Linked DNA regions of Homo sapiens: region 2 is linked to region 1. The links are contacts of gene promoters, found by promoter capture Hi-C in human tissues and cell types (Jung and others, 2019). All regions are on one chromosome and are shown on one strand. Each heading gives the region's core, a stretch centred on a gene start or on the middle of the fragment in contact. The rest is flanking DNA. Distances are from core to core; before and after follow the strand shown.

Region 1 (3,924 bases), core at 564-3,063:
AAGTTTATACCAATTCAGAAACGGAAAAAAAGTCTGCAGTCTTGTTAGCTGATTAAGTGAGAAGACATTGATTCAACCTGGCTCAGGTTGGCAATTGCTCATGGCTGCATTTAATAGAAATGTTAAACAATAAACATTGCATCCCCCTCCCCACATGGGACTCACATCACTTTAGTCACTCTATCTCCCCCTTATTCTCAGCCTCCCTCTGCATCGATTTCTCTCCCCAGTCTCCAGTTTTTGCACATTTAAAGTACGCCTATTTCTGTTTCCATTATTTTTCCTGCTCTTAATCAGGACTGAGACTTTTCAAAATTTTTAACTTCTCTGCTATCCCAGAGATTCTCCATACCCCTTACACTCTCATCCCAAGCATCTCACCCTTACCCTTGCCCCCACCCCCATTCGAGAACCTGGACTTCTCCCCAATCTCTATCACAGTACCCCCCGGTCTAAGACGCCCTTAGCTTTCCCTTCCCCACGCCTCCCCCATCAACCCTCCCTAAGCCGGCAGGCAGTCTCAGCCGTTCCAGAAATTGACAAAGAAGTTGCAGAGGGAGTGCCACTTCTCAGCGCAGTAGGTCTCCGTGAGCTCCGCGTTCCCGTCCAGCCCGTCGGGGTCGGGCCCGGTCCCCATGGGTCGCTCCTCGTTGGGGACCAAGGCCGCCTTCCTCTTGCCCTCGTTGGTCTTCCTCTCTGAGGGGTTTTCTTTGGGCGGTGCGCTTTGGGGAGGCGGGGTCCCAGCGGCTGGGCCGGACGCACGCTCCCGGGTCCGCCCCCGGTTCCGGGCCCGGGGCTTGGACTCCCCCGCGAATCCCGCGACGGTGGGGCGTGCGGGCGGGGACGCGCGGGGCACTAGCCGCAGCTCGGCGCCGTGGCCCTTCTTGCCCGCGCACAAGCGGGCCTGGAGCGGCGCGGGGTCGTGACAGGGCCTCCGCTTCTTGCGCAGCCCTCCCAGCACCTGCTTCCAGAAGTGCGCGCGGCGAGCGGCGTAGGCTGCGCAGCGCTCCGGATGCCCGCGGTAGGCGCACTGGTGGCGCGCCCCGTCCGGGCTCTGGCAGCGCAGCGCCAGCTCGCTGCCCGCTGCGGCCTCCGGGGCGGGCAGCAGGAGCTGCCAGCTGCACGCGTGCTGCTCGGGGCTGAGGAAGCGACCCGAGGAGCCGCCAGTGGGCCCGGGGACCGGCTCCGCCACGTTGCTAGCCGCCCCTTTCTCCCTCCGAGCAGCCGCGAGGAGGCAACCACTCAGCAGCAGCAGCAGCGACGGCGACAGCGACGCTCGCAGCTTCGGAGGAGTCATGCTCCGCGGTTTCCGCGCTCCGCTGTTCTCAGACCACGTTTGTCGGGGCTGGACCAGGCAAAGAGCATTCCCCAGGACCTGCGGACAGAGGCAGAGACTGCCACCAACTGAGCCACACGCAGCGCTTCGCCCAGACACATGCACCTGCGAACTACTCTTCCGCAGACTTTCTAGAATCTGCAGCCTGCGAGGAGACCCTCTGAGGAGCTTTCCTGGGGAAACTGCTTACTGTCTAAATAATCACTTTCGAACCATGTATGCATTGAGATTTTCTTCCCCTTGCAAATACGATAGCAAAACGATGCGTGATAATTGCCCCCTCTACCCCTTCCTTCATTTTCTCCCTTCTCCAACCTGCAATAAACTATCTACAAAATCATTTCAGATGATTCCTTGGAAACATGCACTTTACTACACTTTGAACTTACCGAGTTCTGGGAGAGGCGCCAAAGCCTTATTAGGGTAGAGGGAACGACTGCACGGGGGAGTAGTCTGTTTTAGCCGGCTCCCTGTGAATGAACGTGGTATCAATGGAACAGAAGAGGCCTACCCTTCTTCGCCCCTCCCCGATTTCTCTCACACTGGGAGACTTATCACCGCCGCGCTTCTCTCTCTCTCTCCCTCTCTCTCTCTGTCTCTCCAGATGGATGATGGAAGCGGTCCTGTAGTATGAAATACAAATCTTGTATTTTGCTTCCAATGTTTAAAATAATCAGGCAAAATTAACCAAGTTTTTCTTCTTTCATGTACTTAACCATCCAAAAAATAAAAATTAAACAAAAGATCTAAGTTTTAAAAGTTAAATAAAATGAAACAAAACAAACTTCAGTATTCTAAACTAGGCATTTTTTACACAATTATATCATTTACATTCTATTTCTCATATTCTGAGTTCTACATTTTTACCTATTATTTCCAATAGCCTTTCTTAAGACTCTCAATCTTAATAATTGTTACTACTAATAAAAATATAATATCCTAGTTTATTAACATACAATAGTGCCCAGCAGTTCACCCAGGAGTGGACATTTGGGCTTTTTATTATTTTTAGGTATTAGAAATCAGTTATAAGGGTCCTCCAAAAATTAGAAGTTTAAAAAAATTATTTGTATTATAGTAGTTGAACGGTAAGATTACCAATTGAAATGGTATAATAGTTAAGAATGTGAGACCAGCCTGGCCTGGTGAAATCCCGTCTCTACTAAAAATACAAAAATTAGCCAGGCGTGGTGGCAGATGCCTGTAATCCCAGCTACTCAGGAGGCTGAGGCAGGAGAATCACTTGAACCCGGGACAGGGCGAGACTGCCTCTCAAAAAAAAAAAAAAAGAGAGAGAGAATGAATGTGTTCTTGAATCTTGAAAATGTTACATTTAAGCAAAGCTGCTTTTTCTGGAGGGGGGGATTGTGTGTGTGTGCGGGGGTTTGTTTGTTTGTTTGTTTGTTTGTTTGTTTTGAGACGGGAGCTCACTCTGTCACCCAGGCTGGAGCGCAGTGGTGCTATCTCGGCTCACTGCAACCTCTGCCTTCCCGGTTCAAGCGATTCACCTGCCTCAGCCTCCCCAGTAGCTGGAATTACAGGTGCCTGCCACAACACCCAGCTAATTTTTAGTGGAGAAGGGGTTTCACCATGTTGCCCAGTCTGGTATCGAACTCCTGACCTGAGATGAGCCACCTGCCTCAGCCTCTCAAAGTGCTGACCAAGCAAAGCTGTTTTTTCTTTCTTTTTTTTTTTTTTTGCTCTTTTTAAAATTTTTATTTAGAAGCCTACTTGTAGAAGTTAGCATAATTTTACAGATTATTAGAAAAATTCAATTATTTTCTCTCTGCAAACAGTTATAATAGGTTAGGAATAATAGATTAGAAATGTACTACATTGCAAAAACAGTGGCCTATAACTATCTGTACATTTACTGTGCACCTTAAGGAAAAGAATTTGACAGTGTGCTATACTTACACTGCAGGTAACATATTTTTATTCTATCACACAAAACTGACCAGTGGTAGTGCTTGAATTTATAAATGGCCATTAAACAGAATATTTAAACTGAGATGTATATTTAGCATGCTAAAAAGTGAAAAAAATTTCAACTGAAGTTCTGTGGCTCATCAGTTCAAATGTTTCATGGCATTTTTTTCTTTAAACGAAAAATTTTGATATTGTAAAACAAATAATTTTACATAATAAATGCAAAAGTATAAAATTTTCTAAATTTTTAGAAAGAATATTTCCATTCATTTTGTCATGGGTTTTGTGTGGCTCCTCTTAATATATTAATGATATTAATAAGACACTGGTCCTATACCACTTTCAGAGTCCATCTTCAATTAAAAACTGTAACAAAAATAAACAGTATGTAGAGTAACACAAAGTAAATTAAATATACTAAACTCACACAACAGGTAGAATAAAATGAAACCAAATTACATAATGGCAGGTTATACATTTTAAAGACTCTCTTTCCACTTAGTCAAATAAGAAAGACATTGAAATGTTAACTTACTGATTTCTGTGGGGTTTTCCCCACTGGTTCAAATGCGAAAGTTTGATATAAATCTAATATTTTATTTCTGTACATTTAACATGATTCAGTATAATCTGCAGTCTCATGTATAGCTTGTCAATAA
Region 2 (3,924 bases), core at 760-3,259, 410 kb before region 1:
AAATACATGTCAAATATGATCTTTATATACATATGCATGAGCTATAGAAAAGCCACTTCATTATCCTAGCTAATGCTATTCTATTGAAAAAATCATTAACAGATTTCTTTTTATAGGAGTTGGCCCATGGATTAAGTGAACTCTTATCACATGAAGGCAATGTTGAAGAAGATTTCTATTCAACATTTCAGGTACTATTAAGGGCAAGTAGTTATCTGTTAATCATATATTTCATATATGAACAGTGCAATTTGTTATTAAATACCCACTGTTAGAAAAGATGAACAAGGATTAACCAATACATACAATCCTCTGTCTTAAAGGACCTTAACCTGATAAAGTAGACATGTGTAGATGAGCAGTCAATGAAAGTGCTTAATGAAATTCACTAAGGGTTCAGAGTACTCTCTAGGCAATTACATATCCCCTTGAGTTGGTTACTTTCTCAGAGCTTTTTAGTTTCTAAAAATAAGCCTCTCCTGTAACTTCAACATTAGAAGCTAGGAGTAGAAACTAATGAGTCAGACCAAAACTCTCTGATTTCCACTCCTTTTACAGTATTTGGGAAATGGACATTACAGTGATCTGCAGAGCTCCAGGGACCCGCTGTGTATTATCTAGATGTCCACACAGTTTTGTGGACTTCATTAAAGTATTTAACTGTATTAGGCAGGGTTAAGTTAAGGCACTATTTTTTAACTCCATAATTCTTTTATGATCCCTCGTTCTTAATACAAATATTGCAAGAGCTTAGCCTTTTATAGTTTATGTGTTTAGAAGGAAGGGGGAAAAAAACTGTTTTTTAAATTTTACAAACCTGTTCACCAAAGTATGTTATTATATCAACCATATTAATATGTGTAATGGCATCTCCCATCAGGTTTTTCAAGAAGAATTTGGAATAATCAAGTCCTATAATTTAAAGCCCGGTGGTGATAAAATTTCAGTTACCAATCAAAATAGAAAAGGTAAGTTAATACCCTTTTTAATTAAAATGAATTAGTATTTGCCATTTACTTTTACTATTTAAGAGATGTAAAATTGCTTTTCAGAATATGTACAGCTTTATACTGACTTCCTTCTGAACAAATCCATCTATAAGCAGTTTGCTGCATTTTATTATGGATTTCATAGTGTGTGTGCTTCAAATGCCCTAATGGTGAGTTTATAACTTTAAATCAAGCTTTCGGTTAGCTTTTGTAGTACTATCATGTTAACAAATAATTAATAAATATTTTAGTAGATAAGCTTTTAAAATAGAAAATATTTTCTACTTTTTAAAAGTAGAACTAAAAACAAAAATAGTTCTCTCATTTCAGTCTTAATTCTTTAGAGGGGAAAAACACCCCAGTCAGTTCATTTTCTCTCCCCTTCTACTAAGTCTTTTAGAGCTTTACAAACTTTCTCCAAGTAGAGTGGATGAAGGGATCCATGGACTCAGGATCTTAATACTGAAGGACAAGGCACACAACGCAGTTAACATGTAGCTCCAGGGTAAAAGTTACAACTTCTTAATGATTAAGGAACATATGTATAGCTGCTTCCTGCTACCTCAGGGCTCCCTCAGCAACTCTGCATTGCCTTTTACCCTTAGCAAGTAGTTTATCTCTAGAGTTATGGTGGACTCAGTTTGGTCTGACTTGTCTTAGCCATGTGAATATGGATCAGCTACTATTTAGAATACCATGTCAGAAGTATCATAGGATACCTTTCAGTCACCCCAGCTACCCAGCACACACTTTCATCATGCCATTTATACCTCCCTTAGTTTCATTATGAGGGATTGGAGTAAGATCTTTCATTTGAATTATTTTTCATGGGAGAGAGAAATGGACTATAGAAGTTGCTTTGGGGCAAAACCAAGTGGCTTACATTATTGCCAGCTTGTTTTAGAGAAACCTTTGTAATATGTTTGTTGTCGAAAATACCTTTGAAAGAGAAACACTTTATTGAGCTCTAGTTAAGTTTTGTTTATGACACTCTGGTAATTGTGGGAGTGGACAGAGGGAAAATAAGAATTAAATAGCATAGCATGGTCTCTGTGTTTTAGAGCTTTAATCTCTGTAGGCGGTAGACTAACCCACCTGAAAGTTGAAAAAAACAAGAGACACAAGACAGACTATAACCAAGTGCCCAAACTCTACAGTGCACACAGGAGGTGTTATGGGATATTGGAAGGAGATACTAGGATACGGGATATTAGGTGGATCAGTAGATGTTGGAGCTTCATGCTGGTTTTTGGAGAAGAGTAATTTGGATTTGTGCAAAGTAATTTGCTTGTTTTTCTGGCAAACGGCTAATTACTATTTACAAGATCTATAAACTTCGGAAGCAAAAATATCTTGCCTTGGCAGGAAAAATATACCCAGAGTCGATTTTTCTTCAACAAAAATGGTTTGATTTACTATGAGAAATCATGACTTTTGTGATTTGATCCAGTGAAAATAGTTCCAGTTTCACTTAAAACCATCACTCTTTAATTATTGTTTTTGATAAATAATTATTGGCAGCTGCTTCGTCCAGAAGAGGTTGAAATTTTGGTCTGTGGAAGTCCTGACCTGGATATGCATGCTCTGCAGAGAAGTACTCAGTATGATGGCTATGCAAAAACGGACTTAACTATAAAGTGAGCTCTTTATACTTCTGATAGTGGGGGATGTGGAGAGGGAACAGCAGACAGTGTGGTTCATTTATTTGCATAACTTACAATCTTTGAATCAATTAAGTTAGTCAAAATATTAGAGAGTCCCACAGTCTTATTTTATCTCTGGAAAGTCTATGAGAATTTTAATATGAAATCACTCCCTTTGGGAGAAAATTCTATAAGCAAGTTTCTACAAAAGTGTAGAGATTTTACTTTTAAAAAAATGACTTTGCTCCTAGAATTTCATGGATGCTATCCTTGTAAATAACAGTTTAATAGCACTATGTTGAAAAATAAGACTTGAAAGTTATGCAGGAGAAAAATGGTTCCTGTACTATCCACTGCTGAACTTATATACTTTTATAAAAATATTATTTTATAATGTTAGTCAAAAGTCTAATACGTATATAGAAGCTCACCATTCCTTAATTTTACAGAAATTCAGGATATTATGTATGCTTAAGGAAAGTCCTTTCCTTAGAGCTTCCTTTATATTACTTTATTATAGGATTTTTGTCAAGACATTTGATGTTAATTTCCTTTGGTATTCTCTAGATACTTTTGGGATGTTGTGCTTGGATTTCCTCTTGATCTTCAAAAGAAGTTGCTACATTTTACTACAGGGAGTGACAGAGTACCTGTAGGAGGGATGGCTGATTTGAACTTTAAAATCTCAAAGAATGAAACTTCTACTAACTGGTAAATTTCTGGATCTAATTTTATTTTAAATCTAAAGGTTACTGCTAATACTGCTAATGATAATACATTTGGAATCAGGATGTGTACTCCGTTTGAAGTTATTTTCATAGAAAAATCTTCAGAGTAAACATGGCCTTGAAATGTAAGAGATTTTGATTAAAAGTTCTCTTACTAGTTTTTGAGACATACTAACTAATAATTCATTTCTAACAACTTTTTACTTTGCTAGGTCATATAAGTGCTTTGTAGACTCTTTTAGAACCTAGTTACTTTGTAGTAGTAGATTGTCTAATGTTCATTTTTATTTAAATGTGAAATGTGTTTTTTATTTTTAGGAAAATCATTAAGTTGGGATATCTGGTTTGTTTGTGGAGTTTTCTTTCTTTTCTAGGGGGTTGGGGGATACTATAATTATTACCAGAAGTACCTCTAATACTAATCCTCTTTTTTTTTTTAATCTCATGCTTTTTGTATATGAAGTGATGGTGATGATGGATTTAAATTATTTTCTAGCAGTGTTAATGCATTAATGCTTATCAACTTACTCCTTTTCCCAAATAACTTATAATTTCTAAAGCTAA

The links. The method cuts DNA at HindIII sites, captures the fragments that hold promoters and counts their contacts. A contact is called where the count stands out against the background at its distance.
Region 2: a fragment that was not itself captured here is called in contact with the fragment with the promoter of FGFBP3 in region 1 in 1 of the 25 tissues and cell types used here (aorta).

The regions. Positions count from the first base shown.
Region 1 is chr10:91,907,673-91,911,596 of GRCh38, forward strand. FGFBP3 (fibroblast growth factor binding protein 3) reads right to left here and starts at 1,814. Exons shown (of 2, transcript NM_152429.5): 1 at 1,726-1,814; 2 at 1-1,375. The coding sequence starts at 1,297. The coding sequence ends at 521. It overlaps FGFBP3-AS1 (FGFBP3 antisense RNA 1), which reads left to right and starts at 457. Exons shown (of 2, transcript NR_199602.1): 1 at 457-577; 2 at 1,225-1,676. RefSeq lists a silencer at 687-1,256 and an enhancer at 1,160-1,454. The HindIII fragment of the contact is 15,807 bases long and covers 1-3,924 here.
Region 2 is chr10:91,497,992-91,501,915 of GRCh38, forward strand. HECTD2 (HECT domain E3 ubiquitin protein ligase 2) reads left to right here. Exons shown (of 21, transcript NM_182765.6): 16 at 117-191; 17 at 881-968; 18 at 1,053-1,159; 19 at 2,511-2,626; 20 at 3,200-3,343. The region is part of intron 3 of HECTD2-AS1 (HECTD2 antisense RNA 1); the gene reads right to left. Among named protein-coding and RNA genes, the nearest start is that of HECTD2, 90 kb to the left of the region's middle. The HindIII fragment of the contact is 4,262 bases long and covers 1-3,924 here.